3 separate regions of the Homo sapiens genome follow, and regions 1 and 3 are each linked to region 2. The links are contacts of gene promoters, found by promoter capture Hi-C in blood cells and fetal thymus (Javierre and others, 2016). All regions are on one chromosome and are shown on one strand. The core of a region is centred on a gene start or on the middle of the fragment in contact, and the rest is flanking DNA. Distances in the headings are between cores, read along the strand shown.

Region 1 (2,836 bases), core at 87-2,586, 700 kb after region 2:
ATATTATCATCCTATTAATATTCTTCTGCAACTTGCTCAACAGTATGGTTTTATTATTGAGATGTAACTTAGATACCATAAAAATGTACAACTTAATATTTTTTAGTATAATCACAAGGCTGTGAAATTGTCATCACACTCTAAGTCTGGAATATCTTCATCACCCCAAAAAGAAACCCCAAGAAACTTTGTGCCCACAGCAGTCACTTTTGAGTTCCCCTCCCTTCACCCCTGGCGGCCATAAGTCTTCTCTCTGTCCCTGTTCATCGTTATGTTTTTGAGAGAAATGTATTACGATTTCTGAAGTCGTAGTTCATCTTTTTCAGTTGTAATAAATATATAACTGTTTTTCACTTCTGCCAATAGAAATTTAGGTTATTTGTAGTTGTTTTTAAAATTTCTATTTGAACATGACTTGTTTTTTTAAAAAGTATGTTTCACAATTACACACCTTTTAACAATTAAAGTGCCTTTTAACAATTATTTATGCATACATATATATTCTTAGGCACACTGTTTTAGACAGAAGAATAGAATTGCCAGTGTTAATTCTGTCCACCTTTAATTTTAATGTGTAATAAAAATCATTTTCGAAAGTAAGTGTACAAATTGAAAATTCCACCAATAAGGTGTCATTGTCTTTTACAATTTTTCCCATTGGATTGTAGTCATTGTTTATAGAGGCCATGTGTTAATCTTTTATAAAAATCGATTTGTCAAATTTATTATTTGCTTTTTATTTTCTTTATGTTTTCTTTTGAATGAACATCAATTTTAAATTTTAACTGAGTAAAATTTATCAAGTTTACCTTTTGAGTTTTGTGCCTTTTTCATTTTGTTTTAATTTTTTTCTCTATCGCCAAATTTTCAAGTACTTACTCCTGTATTTCCTTTCTCTCTCTCTCTTTTTTTAGCTTTAATTCACCTGCATTATATGTTTGTGCATGGTGTCTGATAGTGGCTCAATTTCAGTTTTTTTTTAAATTGTTTCCGAGGCGTGTTTCAAATATTTGACTTTTTCCCACTGGTCTGAATAGTGCTTCTCAGATACGGCAAGTCTCTAGGTTTGCATGAGTCAGCCTCTGTGCCCTCTGTTCTTTTCCCCGATGTTCTTTTTGCTTCTTCTTATGCTATTACCACACTGTCTTAATTACTATATTTTATTAACAAATCTCACTTTCTGGTAGACCATTTCCTTCACCTACTTCTTCACTTTCCTTCAGGAATGTCTTGGATATTTGTAACTCTTTTCCTTATGATTTAGCATCAGCTTGACAAGTTTAATAAACCTTGTTAGGACTGAGATAAAATTAGAAAGATTGGACATCTTTAAGGTACTGAGTTCTCCTAGCCAGGAATGTGGCACGTTTCCCTATTTCTTTAGGGAATTGTAAAATGTCTTTTTATAACGTTTTATAATTTTCCCCATAGAGATCTTTAAAATATTTTGTTAGATTTATTCCTAGCACCTTATATATTTTGTTACTCTTGTAAAAAGTATCCTTTTTTTTTTTTTTTTTTTTAGAAACGGAGTCTCGCTCTGTCGCCCAGGCTGGAGTGCAGTGGCACGATCTTGGCTCACTGCAAGCTCCGCCTCCCGGGTTCACGCCATTCTCCTGCCTCAGCCTCCCGAGTAGCTGGGACTGCAGGCACCTGCCACCACGCCCGGCTAATTTTTGTATTTTTAGTAGTAGAGACGGGGTTTCACCGCGTTAGCCAGGATGTTCTCGATCTCCTGACCTCGTGATCCGCCCGCCTCGGCCTCCCAAAGTGCTGGGATTACAGGTGTGAGCCACCGCGCCCGGCCAGTATCCATTTTTAAAAACTACATTTTCTCTTTGTTGCTTGGGTAGAGAAATAAAATCAATTTTTAATTTATCTTATATCTGATCATTTTGTTAAACCCTCATATTAATTTTAATGCTTTAAAGATGTTTAGAGGGAAATATTTTATAAATACACAAATAATACCATTTCATGTGTCGCTTACAGATTTTCTCATCTTATTGAACTGGCTAGAGCCACCAATGTATGCTGTAAAAGCAACCTTGTTTTAATCCTTTTTGAAAGGGAATGTTCCAGATTCTACCATGTGGTACCATGTTTGTGCTAAGATTTTGGTAGGTTCAATTTTTTTCAGTTTAAAGAAGTTCTCCTCTAGCCCATTATGCCAATGAATTTAAGCTGAATGGATATAAAAATTAATCAAATATTTTTTAGTGCCTACTGAGGTGATCTTACGCCTTTCTAGTTTGATTTATAAGTAGGGCTAACTATATTAATTGATTTTTCAATGTTAAACAAAATTTACATTTCTGGAATAGATTTAACTTGGTCGTTCTTTAACTTTGCGTTCCCCTTAAAAAGGACCTTGAGAGAAGGGCTCAGCGTCTGATAGTTCCAGCATCTGGCTGTGGAGCTGTATGGCTGAGTCATCATCTGTTGGTTTGTTTGCTGACTTCCAACCTTTGTGCCTAGATATTGAAGTCACCTTCTCTCCCTTTGAAGGGCAGAGACTTTGTGTGTTTGTCCTTTCACTCAGCATGGCTCTTGGAGTTTCTGGCTGCATGAGAAGGTCCTGGGAGACTCTTCCCTTCCAAGAGCCTCCATGTTGTCTTCTGCCTTTTGGGGCTACTGAAACCGCAGCACAAGGTGTAGGGAAATTACCAGGTTCCCCCAGAGCCGTCGTTCCTTGCACCGCCTTTCCACGATGTGTGTGCCCCCTTTTGTTTTGTCCCCTGGGATTTCTCCTACACTCTTGCGAGGTCATTATGAACTTAAAAGGATGTGGATTTTTATTTTATTTTATACCTTAGAGGTCTTTTATAGCAGAGAT
Region 2 (3,000 bases), core at 99-2,598:
AAGGATTCTTTCCAGTTCCCTAGTAAATGCACAATGGACAGGTATTTGGCTGTTCCTGGGATAAAGAAAGACGGGGAAACTTTTGGGAAACGATGTAACAAAGACAGCCCTGTTGAATGTGATCATGTGCTTGGCAAATGCAGTCATTGCTTTCTGTCTCTGCTGCTTTTCACAGGTATAAGCCACTGGCTGATACATTCCTGCGTGAGAAGAAGGAACAGTCAGCTGCCGAGCGATGTCGACTTGTTCTCCAGCAGTGTAAATTACAAGGCTGGCAGGTTGGTGACCTACAAGCTATGAAAATAACATTTTAGGATTTTAAATAAATGAGCTGAGTCATTGCAGGGAGCCACCAGAATCTTCCTGGCAAAAACAAATTCCTTTGATGTGTTTGGCAAGGCGTGACATTAAGTGTATTCCCTGGAAATTTGTCATTCTTTATGACTTACCGATTTTAACATCTTGCAGCCAACATGAGAGGAAATCTAACAGGCTCCCTTTACAACATGACAGAAGCTTATGAGCCCCATTCTGTTTGCCCGTGTGTCAGATTCATACCTTGTCAGTAAAGCATTTTGTCATATTTACCCATAGCAGGAGTCAGAGGAGCCAAAATTGAAGAACTAAGGTTGATTTCTTTGTGCAGAGTTGGTCTCTCATAAGTGCATGTTCAACCTGGACTTCCCCAGCTCGTTCACGTCTCAGTCAGCTCCCCTTTTTTTCTGTTTCTCTTTGCCCTGCTTCTCACCTGCCATACAGTGAAAATGTCACCATCCTTTGAAGCCCATTTGTTGGCAAAAGCTTCATAATTGGAAACACTTTATTATAGTCTGTGATCCATTTGAATGGTAGACCCTAGGGGCCAATGAAAGCTACAGCTAGACTTGCAGAAAAAGAAAATAACCTGAGACAAAATTACAGGCAAATGTTTACCAGAAACAGGAGAAGATGGTTCCAGATTTTGTAAATACCTTCAACAACATCAGAGTCCATCCTTGACTCATTTTAGGAAGTAGAGGTTTGAAGTGAGAAGGGCAGATTAGAGCAACAATGGGAAACCACGCAGTCCATGACACCAGAAATTATTTGGAAGTTTCTTGCTGTAAAACCACCAAAAGTGCATAGGTGGCAAAAACAAATGGTAGCTAAAAGCTTTGATAAAAATATGACGATTACTGGAAAGTAGACATAAATTGCATCTTTAAAAAGTGATAGGGAGAATATCTATGAGTAAAAATATATGATAATTGATGAGTCAAAGGATGGGGACTTGGCTTTAGAAATGACATGAGCTGATGATTCAGAATTGCTGAATAGGTCCAAAAGTGGCCCAGTCTAAGTAAAACAGGGAGGGAAGACTGGATTGACACTCGCACACTCATCTGTCTATGACAAAGAACAAAGAACCTAGAATTTTGGCATTGATGAGTAATGATTTAATTGTCTGTGCCACCCAATCTTTTTCTTTGTTATCTTTTTTCCTTTTCTTTTTTTTTTAACTAATAATGAAATTTGAACTTTAAATAACAATCTGAAGGAGGAAGCTTACTCAGTCTGAAGTTGTCAGTGATGCACATCAGTGCCAAAAGATTGGATAAAAAGGGAAGGAGGAAGAAGGAGGAATTACTAACCAAAAGTGATGTCTGCCAACCCCTCCAGAGTCAGTGACATAGGGGTGGGATTCACATATATCAGCATTTATTCTGTCTATAGGTAACTGAAGTCAGTTCAATGGAATCATTACTGAGATTTTGAATAAGTAATTATATAGTAGTAGTCCACGGATGATGTAACACTAAGATATTCTTATTGTATTATTTTGCTTTTAAAGACTACTTACAGATAATGATATACATATATGTATATGTATGTGTATATATGTATATGTGTGTGTGTGTGTATATATATATATATATCTGTGAGATAGATGTATGTGTATGAGGGAGAGAGAGAGGGAGAATTTTTATTTGTAGAAGAAAGCAAGGGAATCTGTAATAATTATTTCACTAAGAGAGTGATTGGCAGTAACCACAATATCTGAGCAGTGGTCCCTCTGATAGACCACTGTAAAGTACAGGTCAAATATGAGAGGAGACCAGAAGACAAATTGGTAAGCCCTGCCAGCCATCATTTCTTCTATATTGGTGCTTTTGCTAGGATTGCAGCTGAGGATAGCATTAAATTGAAACATACATTGGGACTTTCAACAAGAGCATTAAAATTTATTTTAAATGGGAAAGGGATCCCATTTCATGGCACTAATCTATTTTCTCCACACTTTTCACCTGCCTAAAAGAAGCTGAAAACACAAGACAAAAAAATTAAAAGGAAAGAGAAATAAATGTGCTCATTCACTGAGTATATTTGCTTATGAGTTCCCTGTTGTCTAGTCAGAAAAGACAGTATTTCTTCAGCTTCTTCACGATGTAACCTATGATATACTTTATACTACCAGACAAATAATCAACTTCACAGAAATGAAGCATATTCATACTTCACTTTTATATTGGTCTGACAAAGGAAAAAAAGATTTTGTTAAAAAATAAATAAATAAAACAAAAAACACTCATTCCTAACCTGGAAAGTTAGACTCCTCAGTTTCAAAAGCAAAGCATTTTTTAGATATGTGTTGCTAATTACAGAAAGAATTCCTCCTAGTCAATTCTGTTTTTAATTAATACAGGGATTCAATCAGAAGCTGTTAGGCTGCAGGGACAACAAGGTTGTATCGGATGGTTATTCTATCTGTAGCATTATTTCCAAATTGCTAAGAGTTATAATGTGTGTTTTCATTAACCAGTCAGTTCATCCTTTAGTCCTGAGTGGTTAGCATGAAATGAATGGTTACTCTTTTCCATATTTTTAAAAGCAGTGCTGGAGGACAGAAGTGATTAGAATTATATTTTGCTGTGTTAAGTGGTATACAGTGTTAGCTAGAAATTCATTTCTTTTAACTGAAAATAGTAATTTCGTTGTCATTCTAATGCGTCTTGGAGATCT
Region 3 (2,700 bases), core at 58-2,557, 740 kb after region 2:
TCTGTCCATCCAAGAAATCCCCCCAATCCCTAGAAGCATAAAGAAGAAAAATCAAAATCATCAAAATCATTCCCAGGCCTCCCAACCAAAGATAAGCTGTCTTTTTTTTTTTTTCACATTCAGGGTCATAATATAACAGATTCGAACTCACTTTCCTGTTTAATAAACAATGAGGGCCGGTCTTTTCTCCCGCCATTAAACATTCTTCCTCGATACCCTTCCTTGCTGGCTATGGAATGACATATCCATTCTTGGCAGGGCATATTCTAACAGAGAATACACTTCATGGAAATCATGATAGATCAAAATAAAAATTAGTGCACTAATTGGATTAATTCTAGTGTGACTAAATTAACCTAAGCAACAGCCTTTGGTGTAATATGACATTTTGAAGGGTTTGGCAGGCAAAATATCTATTACTAGTAAGTTTTGAATAATATCTGCCACATAACTTAGATAGTTTAATAGGCTAATATATAAGTTAATCTTTAAAAGTCAGCCTATTTTTATAATTAAGAGAACTGATATGAATAGAACGAAGGCACAAGAAGCATTTTTAAAAATAAAATTGTGGAGGAAAAGAGGCATTTAAGAGACAAGAAGAAGAGTGTTTAGGACTGATTAGCCTGAACGTGGAGAAAATAAAGCCAGCATTATGTATGGGGTCTGCTTCCTGTGGTGTCAGAGTCAAGAGATTAACTGTGCCGGTGTGGCCGCTGCGTGCCGGCTGTCAGCGTCTGTATCCTGCTGAATGATCCCCAAGCCCTTGTTCATCTCAAATTCCTTCTGAAAAAGAACATTTATGGAACACATGGAATGTGGCAGGCACCTCACCAGTGCTGACACAGAGACGCAAGAGACTGGAACTGTGCTGTCAGTGACTCAAGGGTAGTGGGACAGGCAGGTGACAAAGACTTGTATCATAGCATTGAGTGACTCAGCCATTCTGTATGTGGTTTTGGGGAGCACAGAGCAAATGGCCTCAGACTGTGTACGTGGGGTAGGGACATTTTCACAGAAGCATTATCTGAACCAGCTCTTGAAGAATGAGAAGTTCAGCATCTGGGCAAGCAGAAGAATGGCTGGTTTCTGGAAAGTCAAACCAAACCAGCATTAAGTGATGGCACATGCGGCGTGCATGCCCAGGCCACTTCTGAGTGGCAGGAAAGGATAGAGAGGAAGTGTAAACCACAGCCCTTGTCTTCAGGATTAGCAGGCCACATTCCCTGTGGCTTAGCCAACCCTGATCCCCACTTCCTTCTCAAAAATGTGTGAAGTCATCATTTTGGACTCATAAAGGTTGAAGAACAGGAGTCAGCTGAAGTCCCAGGCCAATGTTGGTTGCATACCCATCATTTGCAAATCTGGTCTAAATCTTTCTCTCTGATATGTGTCTAAGATTCACTTGGAACAATTGCATATTCTTTTATTCTACCTCACTGTCTGTTCTGAGGAAGTCCCTGCCTACCTTGGCTGGTGACATTGATTCTACAGCCACTTTACAGAGGTAACTGAGAAGTGCAGCTGGCTGGGGTTGGCTGTGGCTGTGGAGTTCTTAGGAGGGTGAGACACAAACCCCAGAGCCTGCTCACTCCGGCCACCCAGGACCTCTTTCTCTTTATGCGGTGGGATTTTGTTCTGAATGTTATCAGAACAAAATACCTTCAGCATCGGGAGCCCATGGGTTTATAGCCAAAATACTATATTACATGAGTGATTTCGAGATCAGTGAACACACACACACACACACACACACACACAAGGCCATAATAGAACTTTCTTTCTTCATAATTATAAAACTAACTTAAAAGTTTGGCATCATAAAACTTACACTGAAATATTTTAATATTAGAGTTGCGTTTTGTTTTGACTAGGAGAAGCCATTTAGCTCAGCTCTTTAGACCCTTTCCTTTGAAGATGTTGTCCACCGCAACCACCCCCCCGCCCAAAATGCTGATGACCAGGGTTGGTTCCACAGCTCTTTCCTGCTACAGTCACATGGCAAAGCCATTCACTGGGTATCCAGAGATATACCACACTGGTCTTCTCTTAAGAAAACTGGCAGCCAGGCACAGTGGCTCACACCTGTAATCCCAGCACTTTGGGAGGTGGGCGGATCGCCTGAGGTCAGGAGTTTGAGACCAGCCTGGCCCACATGGTGAAACTCCATCTCTGCTAAAAATACAAAAAATTAGCTGGGCTTGGTGGCAGGCACCTGTAATCCCAGCTACTTGGGATACTGAGGCAGGAGAATCGCTTGAACCCGGAAGGTGGAAGTTGCAGTGAGCCGAGATCGTATCATTTCACTGCAGCCTGGGCGACAGCGCAAGACTCTGTCTCAAAAAATAAAATGAAATATAATAAAACAAAACTGGAAACTAGAAAATCAAAAGGCACTAGGTAATGCCCAATAGGTAAATCAAGGCAAAATAATGGTGCTTGATTGAGTGGACATCACTCACAATCCTTGGTAGACAATCGGGAACCTACTCTGGGAATTCTTCGTGGACTTGCTGGCAACGTTGATGGTAGTAACTTATCTAAAGTCACTTTTGGGTGTTTGGAAACTATCATGCACTACACAAGTGTCTCCACACCTGTGTTCTTTGCCTGGGTAAGTTAGGAATGTGGAAGAATGTGGGCAGTATCTGGAGGATGGTCAGGATCATCTATAAGCTTATTGCAAAAGAGAGGATTTGT

Evidence for each region. The method cuts DNA at HindIII sites, captures the fragments that hold promoters and counts their contacts. A CHiCAGO score of 5 or more calls a contact.
Region 1: a fragment that was not itself captured here is called in contact with the fragment with the promoter of MYO16-AS2 in region 2 in 3 of 17 cell types (M2 macrophages, M1 macrophages and M0 macrophages); the score reaches 8.6 in M2 macrophages.
Region 3: a fragment that was not itself captured here is called in contact with the fragment with the promoter of MYO16-AS2 in region 2 in 4 of 17 cell types (M1 macrophages, M0 macrophages, M2 macrophages and 1 more); the score reaches 6.5 in M1 macrophages.

The regions. Positions count from the first base shown.
Region 1 is chr13:109,800,668-109,803,503 of GRCh38, forward strand. All of the region lies in intron 1 of LOC105370360 (a long non-coding RNA gene), which reads left to right. Among named protein-coding and RNA genes, the nearest start is that of IRS2, 16 kb to the left of the region's middle. RefSeq lists an enhancer at 2,355-2,649. The HindIII fragment of the contact is 3,587 bases long and covers 1-2,836 here.
Region 2 is chr13:109,100,610-109,103,609 of GRCh38, forward strand. It overlaps MYO16-AS2 (MYO16 antisense RNA 2), which reads right to left and starts at 1,349. Exons shown (of 3, transcript NR_046538.1): 1 at 934-1,349; 2 at 589-748; 3 at 1-200. MYO16 (myosin XVI) reads left to right here. Exons shown (of 35, transcript NM_001198950.3): 28 at 176-278. RefSeq lists an enhancer at 1-1,040. The HindIII fragment of the contact is 392 bases long and covers 1,151-1,542 here.
Region 3 is chr13:109,839,565-109,842,264 of GRCh38, forward strand. No RefSeq gene overlaps it. Among named protein-coding and RNA genes, the nearest start is that of IRS2, 54 kb to the left of the region's middle. RefSeq lists an enhancer at 486-1,685. The HindIII fragment of the contact is 2,734 bases long and covers 1-2,674 here.